Regions from separate parts of the Homo sapiens genome. Here region 2 is linked to region 1. Evidence: promoter capture Hi-C in human tissues and cell types (Jung and others, 2019). All regions are on one chromosome and are shown on one strand. The core of a region is centred on a gene start or on the middle of the fragment in contact, and the rest is flanking DNA. Distances in the headings are between cores, read along the strand shown. Region 1 holds the start of EARS2 (glutamyl-tRNA synthetase 2, mitochondrial). Region 2 overlaps RBBP6 (RB binding protein 6, ubiquitin ligase).

The links. Contacts are between HindIII fragments. The study calls those that stand out against the background at their distance.
Region 2: a fragment that was not itself captured here is called in contact with the fragment with the promoter of EARS2 in region 1 in 1 of the 25 tissues and cell types used here (dorsolateral prefrontal cortex).

Annotation. Positions count from the first base shown.
Region 1 is chr16:23,555,759-23,559,965 of GRCh38, reverse strand. EARS2 (glutamyl-tRNA synthetase 2, mitochondrial) reads left to right here and starts at 2,616. Exons shown (of 9, transcript NM_001083614.2): 1 at 2,616-2,761. The coding sequence starts at 2,623. It overlaps UBFD1 (ubiquitin family domain containing 1), which reads right to left and starts at 2,239. Exons shown (of 7, transcript NM_019116.3): 1 at 2,199-2,239; 2 at 1,687-2,016; 3 at 290-498. The coding sequence starts at 2,223. RefSeq lists silencers at 1,817-1,996, 2,097-2,186 and enhancers at 1,354-1,997, 2,257-2,456, 1,998-2,642, 2,647-2,926, 3,287-3,931. The HindIII fragment of the contact is 16,025 bases long and covers 1-4,207 here.
Region 2 is chr16:24,551,815-24,555,935 of GRCh38, reverse strand. RBBP6 (RB binding protein 6, ubiquitin ligase) reads right to left here. Exons shown (of 18, transcript NM_006910.5): 4 at 2,379-2,423; 5 at 233-321; 6 at 19-115. Among named protein-coding and RNA genes, the nearest start is that of RBBP6, 14 kb to the right of the region's middle. The HindIII fragment of the contact is 7,515 bases long and covers 1-4,121 here.

The DNA.
Region 1 (4,207 bases), core at 1,367-3,866:
AGAGAGAAACCCACGTCTGATTCCTTTCAACACATGGTCTGAAGCCTCCCTTTACCAAGGTCTTATCCTAAAGTAGGTAGACTTGAGACACACTGACCCGCCAGATGAGACAAAGTTGCAAATCTCAGGTAGTTGTCACCTCCACTCTGCGGCACCCAACTGCTGCCATAAATTTCCATCATGGGCCCTGTCCAAAAAGGAGCTTATTCTAGGGAGAATATAACCAGCCACGGCTCAAGAGGACAAAGCCTCAAATTTCTCAAGACCAAGAAGCACAAGATGGACTCACTTTCTGCCTGCAGAGAGGCTCCTTCTTGTTCTCTTCGGCCTTTGCATCCTGCTGCGCAGCATCTTTGGGTGTGTTTACTGCTAAAACATCATTGATGGTGGAGCCAACCACCATGATCTTGGCCCCACTGGTCACTTTTATTTCTCTCAATGTTTTATCCTCGGGGACGAGTCCCTTATACATGACTTTCTGCATGGCAGGCGGGAGACCTTGGGAAAAGGTAGAAGGTGGACAGTGAAAGGAAGGAAGGACAGAAAAATGTATGGATACTACACAGCTCTTTGGTAACAGACCAAAAAGTGAATACTGCCTCCACCACCTATTAGCTTTGTGAACTTGGGAGATTTACAACCTCTGAACCTCAGTTTCTAGAACTGTAGAAGATTTATTAGAGTAAGTCCTTCTGTACAGACCTGTTTCAAGGATTAAGAGACCAATGCGGGGCATTTAGTACGGTGGCTAGCATTGAATAATTGTTCAGTAAGTACTAGCTCTCATTCTTTCCAAGTTGTTCCTCAGTCATCTAAATCATTCACATATTAAGTGAGAATCCACAGGCATCAGAGCTACAGAAGCCAATAGGGACAAAACTCCTGTTCTTAATGGAGATTACAAGGCTACATGTAGAAAGCTTTAAAAAAAAAAAAAAGTTCAAGGCCAGGAGTGATGGCTTATGCCTGTAATCCCAGCACTTCGGGAGGCCGAGGTGGGTGGATAAAATAAAAAAAACTAGCCCGGCGGGGTAGCGGGCACCTGTAATCCCAGCTACTCGGGAGGCTGAGGCAGGAGAATCGCTTGAACCTGGGAGGCGGAGGCTGCAGTGAGCCAAGATGGTGCCAGTACACTCCAGCCTGGGCAACAGAGCAAGACTCCGTCTCAAAAAAAAAAAAAAATAGGAAAAAGAAAAGAAATCTCAGATGGCAAAGAGCTATGAACAAGGTAAAATTAAGAAACAGAATCGACTGTGAAGAACCAGCATCAAAGTCAATAGCAGCGTTTCCTAAACTTCACTTAGAAGAATTACCTAAGATATTTGCTAAAAATAAATTCCTGGCTACATCCCAGACCCACTGAATCAGAATCTCCTGGGAAAGGGCCCAGAAGCTGTAAAACAAGCGCCTTAGGTGATTTTTTAATTAGAGATGTTAGAGCAACATCAATGAGAAACTGGGGCCTAAACGTCAGACTTCGGCTTTAATCCCAGCTCTGCAACTTACTAGCTCTATAAACTTGAGTCTCTTTCCCCAGCTGAGTAATGGGCATCCAAGTATCCTTCAGAAGACTGCTGTAAGGATGGGGGGACCTGATGCAAGGAAAGCCACCAGGTGCCTAGTAGGGTGCAAGGGCCATCAGGAGGCGGGGTGGGGAAGACTGGCTGTCAGCGCCACAGGAATTACCTGTAATCGAGTGGATCTTCTGTTTCAGCTCGGAGCCTGTGCTGTCCAGGGGGAACTTCACGTCATGCTTGGTCTTATTCCAGATGATCTTCAAGTCCACCAGCTCCCTGCCCGCGCCGCCGCCCGCGTCTTCGCCGTTGCTGACCGAGGCCTGGGCTGCGGGGTCCCCAGGGGGCTGGGCCGGGGCCGGCTGCAGGCTGCCTCGTGCGGCGCCGGAGTCCTCGGCCGCCGCCCCCGCCGCGGCTTCAGCCTCCAGGCAGTTGACGGGCCGCGCGGGAGCCTCAGTAGCCACAGTCTCGGCCTCCGTGTCCATGCCAGGTTCCTCCATGCCTGCAAGGGGGTTAGGGGGTGGGCGCTCGCCGCGGGCTGGGCTTGGGAACGGACGCTGTCCGGGCGCCGCCGGACCTCCGTTCCCGAGCCGCGGTTCTCCCTCCCGGGCCGGGCCGCATCCCCCAGAGGAGCGACCGCAACCTCAGCCCCGGCCCGGCGCCCGCCACCCCCGCCGCACTCACCATCCGGGGCCCCGGCCGCCGCCATGATGATTGTGTACAACACCCACCGCTCCCGCAGAGGCCGCTGGGAAGAGGCGAGCTGGCTGAGATTGGCCCCCGCAGCAGCCCCTAATCTCTCACAGCCCGGCCGGAAACAGGTGGAGGTTTCTATGGAGACCCGCCTCCTCCGCTCCCAGGTCCGGCCCCTGCCACGCTTTCGCTTTCCCAAGCTGAAGGGGGCGGGTCCGGGAAATAGCCCTTTCTCTGGCCTCTGCCCCCTGGTGGCGAGTGCGGCCGCAGCCGTCCAGGGGGGCGTGGGATTTCGCGCTAGGGGGCCTGTGACTTTAAGGGGCAAGGCTGCGCTGGCTGTGGCGGAGGCCGATTGGCTGGAAGCAGTCCCCGGAAGTGACGCAGGGAGAAGCCCACGTGTGCTATTCCATCCCACATGGCGGCGCTCCTGAGGAGACTGCTGCAGCGCGAGAGGCCTTCGGCGGCCTCTGGCCGCCCCGTAGGACGGCGCGAGGCCAACCTGGGCACTGATGCCGGGGTTGCGGTGCGAGTGCGGTTCGCTCCCAGCCCCACAGGTAACCCTGGCGGACGTGACGCTACAGGCCGAGGCCCCCTGTCCCGTCTCCGCCCCACGAATGTTCCCGAATGAATCCTTTCCGGTGGTGTCAGAGTGGGCGGGCGGAGGAGGGTTAAGGCAGCGCGAGCCCATTTTACAGAGGCGGAAACTGAGGTGCAGGAGCGGAAATAATTCAAATTGCCAGGAGTTTCTTGTGTTTTTTGTGCCATCCCATCTCTTTCGATCTTTTTTTCATGCATTCCATACATGTGCATTGATGACAACCTGTGTAACAGGTGTTGTAGACGCTGGGATACAGTGATCATTGAGAAAGGTAGGGGCCTTGCTCTGTGGAAGTCTGCATTCTAGTGGCTGCCGCAGACACTTATAAAAAATAAGTGTAATTTTAGAGTCACATGTGCCATGCGGGAAGTGAAACAGGATAGGAGACTGGGGATTAAGAAGGACGCTCCAGAAGGCTTTACTGAGCAGGTAACATTTGAGCTGAGATCCAAATGACAAGAAGGAGCACGCTATGTGAAGCCTATAGAAGGAACCTTCTGGAGGCCAGGCGCGGTGGCTCACGCTTGTAATCCCAGCACTTTGGGAGGCAGAGGTGGGTGCATCACTTGAGGTCAAGTGGATCACTTGAGAGCCGTCTGACCAACATGGTGAAGCCCTGTCTCTACTAAAAATACAAAATTATCTGGGCATGGTGGCGCATGCCTGTAATCCCAGCTACTTGGGAGGCTGAGGCAGGAGAATCGCTTGAACGCAGGAGGTGGAGATTGCGGTGAGCCAAGATCGCGCCATTGCACTCCAGCCTGGGCAACAAGAGCGAAACTGTGTCTCAAAAACAAAAAAGAAGGAACCTTCTGGGTAGAGGAAATCGCAGGTACCAAGGCACTGTGCTAGTGCTGTTGGGAGCTTAGCAAGCTAGAGGGTGACAGAGGCCCATTGTATAGCCTGTTGGAGATCTCGTCAGGGCCTTTTGGTTCCCACCAGTAAGGCTACCTTCTACGTTCTCTACACGGAGTATGCCTCTCATCCCAAATCCCAGGATGAACATACAAAGATCTTTGTAGTAAAATCCCAGCTATACATGACAGGATCTTTCTGGCAGGCAGTATAGCCTAGAGCAGTGCCTTTCAAACCATCTGTTGTGGAAGTGCTGGTTTTAAATTTCCAATCAATTGTGTATCAATATTTGCACAAAATTAATATAATGACCAGAAAAATAAAATTTTGAAAACATCCAAAATACAAACCAATCTCATTTTATTTGGGTTAGCAGAGGTAAAATCATTCTGCCAGATTGCTATGTAAGTTTCGCCTGGCCAATATGGCAAAACCTTGTCTCTACTAAAATACAAAAATTAGCCGGGCATGTGGCCCAGGCCTGTAATCCCAGCTACTCAGGAGGCTGAAAATCGTTTGAACCCAGGAGAAAGAGGTTGCAGTGAGC
Region 2 (4,121 bases), core at 1,236-3,735, 1.0 Mb before region 1:
TTTCTGCTTTGAACTTACCCCATTTGTTGGGCAATTCTTAATATAATGTCCAGGTTTACCACAACGGAAACACGTGTAAGATGGAGGTGGTGGACCTAGAGGTTTCTTCATGTAACTAAAAGGGGGAAAAAAAATTACATGTATACGAGGACTTTGAAAAAATAGTGCTTTTGATTGGGGGGGAAAACCCACCCCAAAAGTTCCTATTAGTATAAAATATTTATGAACTTACTTGATTGGGTCGTATTCATGGCCAGATTGCGACATCATTGCTTTAATTTTATCTTCTTCAGAAGCATTGGCTTCAGCCAGATTGGCAGTCTGTTTAACAGGTAATTATTTGACACACACATTAGAAACACATTTAAGACCACACAGCCAAAGACAACACCACTCATCCTGTAAAGAGCAGTATCTAACTAATCTTGCATAAAAACAGCTATTTACACGTATAACCTGGAAGAGGCACTTGGGAATTCCTTAGGTAATTACATGATGTTTAGGTGTCTGCAAGGCTGAAGAAAGTCATTCTGGGGGCACTCAAACCTTAGACCCTGTTTGTACCTTACATTAAGACTTGCATACTACTTTTCTACAAGTTAAAGACTGATATTAAGTTAGAATAGAAACACTTGATGTTTTAAAAATAATTCAAGTGTCAGAGCATTAAGACTAATTTATACTTACAATGTGGAGGTAGGGATGGGGGTAGAATGACTGAACGTATTATGCAGCAGATATTAGAAGTAGAAGGCTCTTTAGGTAGTGATGTTAGTTTCAACTCAAGTGCAAAAGATGTGCATTGAGCATTATAATTTTAAATTAAACTCTTCAGATAAGTTTTATGAATTTCATCTTTGAGGTATGATATACAAGGTCTAGATGTAAGCAGGGTCTAAGGGAGTGATTTCTAGTTAAGTTGAATCTTCAGGCATTTAGCACTCATATCAGCCATTCATTGGGGTTTGTCTTTACATTCATCCACAAAACAAGCAACCAGTTTTAACATTTTATTGTAATTTTATATACAAAGAATGCTTAACATTAACAGAGCTTAGAACAACAGCAACATTTACAGAAAACTGGATTACAGATGTTTAACAACTAATTTGTTTGAACCCAAACATTGTTTTACAAATACCTGTAGTTTAAAAAAACAAAAAAAAAAAACCAATCCCCCAAACCGCCCCAACTCCTCCCCACAAAGAAACAATGGTAGGAATAGACCAAAAACTCAAATATGGTCCTTACAGTACATAAGAATAAAAACAGTAAACTATAAACTTCTAAGTGTTAACTCTATACTAAACCACTTTGCATTAGAAAATTATAAAATAGGATGGCTTTAGTCCACTTTATGTTTTAGAATAATCAATTTTAATGCTTAGTTTTCCCAGAACAGGAGCTTAAAAAGCAATTTGTTACTAGGACATTTTGTCGGGATACAGTCTAGGGGAAAGGACATAACAAAGCCAAGAACAAGATAGGGACAGCACTAATGGAAAACCCATCTTTTCATTAATCTTGGTTGCTAAATTTGGTTTCACATTTCTGATAGCAGGGAAAAAGGATTTTTGGAAAACTGGACAGCTTCCTTCTTGGCCCTCAAAAGTCTGCCTATTTTTTTTTTTAAAGGCACAATTTGCAAGCTAAATGTATTGCTTTAAAAAGTAATCCATCACTAGTGCTTTCCCAAACAGAAGATACACATTGTTGAGCAGAAAATGCAAGCAATCTTATCGCAAAACATGGCATATACAGTGATTCAGGAGGTAACAATTTGCCCCTCTGCCAAACATACACATTGGTATATTCCTGCAAACAGCTTTACACACTTACACAATTCATGTAGTCTGTGTTCAAACAAATTAGGTTGTTCAAAACTTTTCCTAATGCAGACAGACTACAAGTCTATAGCATAAAGAAACAACTGCATCACATTTAAAATATTGACCTTCATGGGATCAAGTCAAATATTCAAGAAATAACCATGCAATCGTCCGTGTAAAGGAAATCTTCTGTTTTGGCTGCTTAAAAAAGGTCCACATAATTTATAGCCAAAACCAGGAAATTCCTCCAGAACCTTGTTAGTTTCCAATGTATAATTAAACAAAATGTATGAGGGAAAAAAAATAATTAAGTGTAGCTTCAAGTGTTTCTTCTGTCTTGAAGATGAACAATACTCCAATACGCTGAGGCTGACAAAGTATTCCCCTATCTTCTCAAAACAGCAACTACTCTTTACAGGATAGTAATAATATGTACAATGCTTTTGCAAAATATGTCCTCCCCCAACCCCTCTTAAAAAACCGTTCCACATAAAAAAATATGATGTTAGAAAAAAACTTATATTTTCAAGAATATATATATATATATACCTTTGTAAGCTGGGCCAGAGAAATAGACGCGGAAGAGTCATCAATCTGTTCACAAAAAATTAAACACACATTCAAGTTCCAAACTGAAAACATCTTAAAGTGATCATTTAGCCCCTATTGACACCTTAATGTTGAAATATTGGGCATTTTCTTAGTTTTCTAAAGAATGTTAAGCTTGAAAATGTAGCTCAGCCTACTTCATTCTTCTCTAGATATTTCACACAGTTATAAAAAGCTATCAGTTGGAGGGGAGGAAGAGGGGACTCAATTAAAATGAAAAAATGTATCACACAGAAAATCTGTTCAGAGTGTCGACTGAATACTAGGAGTCCCATATCTCCCTATGGTCTCTAAATGTGACAATACTCAAGACAATGTACACTGGAAGAGAGAATAAGAAATCTAATTTTCCTGCAAGGCCATTATACAACATTGTAAAAACAAACAGCCCTTTAAGGGCTCAGATAATTGCTTTAATAAATAACAGCTCCCATATAATTGCTACTTCTTTAATTTTTGAAAACATACTCTTCAGTCTGAGTAAGTTTGTTTATTCTCTCATACAAAGAGTAATAGCTTCTTGTCAAAGAAACCACAGCTTTCTCAGGGCAAAGATGTTAAGTCAAAAAAAGGGAAAACAATGGCACCCTGAGGAGAAGGCCAACAGAGCTGTCACTTATTATGATGGACTCTAATATTTGAAGAAAGTTAATTTAATCACACAGAGCAAGTGTACATAAAGGATATAAGAGGGCTTTAAAAAAGGTATTTTAATGAGCCTTAAGCATTCTGCCCCACTCACTAACTGCCAATTCTCTAACACTGAAGAGGGGGAGATAACTGGGCATATTTGAAGAGGCATCTTTGTGTAAAAGATGTATGGAGTCAGGAGAGAGCCACCTTCATAAACTGTTCTGTGCAAAGAGGAATAAAACATTTCTCTTTCAAAATAAAATAAAAATAAAAATGTATTTTAAATTGAACACTAATTTTTTTCATTTGATCCTCTGAAATGATTTTAATATCAGTTTTTAAAAAAATCTTTAGCAAACAATCTTGAAGATATGATTTCCCTACAGCTTCCTACGTAGTAAGTGGGTTGCTTAGTTAACATGTCGTAAGGTCAGAACTCTTCATTTAAAATGGAGAATGTAACAAGATGTCTGGATCAAAGAAAAAAGTCTTCATCAGGTATTCTGTTCCAGAGAACCAAAAGTTTTAAAATAAAAGCAACATGACTTAAGAGCCCCAAAGACAAATGTAACCAGTCTCAATATGAAGTTCTTAGCCAATGCCCACACAGTAGGGATTCAATAAATGTAAATAAAAAATAATGTTGGCTAAATATAAGACACATCTCACAAATATCTTAGGGTTTTAAAAGTTAATTTGATGGATATTACTGGGATGTTTATTCAGACAAAAGGTTCTTTGCTCCACATTAAGGAACTGACTATAAAAGAGTTCATGATGCACTAACCCTATAACTTAATGCATATCTACATAATTTGCCAATGGGTTATCATTTTTGTCCAGCTTTTAAGTATTTTTTTCCTTTAAGAACTAATCTCAAGTGGTAAGTAGAAAAAAACCTCTAAATAATACATATCTCTTTTTATCTAAAATAAGTTCTGACCTACTCAATCTATTTTAAAGATTTTATACCAACCAGAAGTTACTTGATTTTAAGTAACAAGGACTAGACAAATTGCTGTCAACCATCATCTATACTACATTCTAACC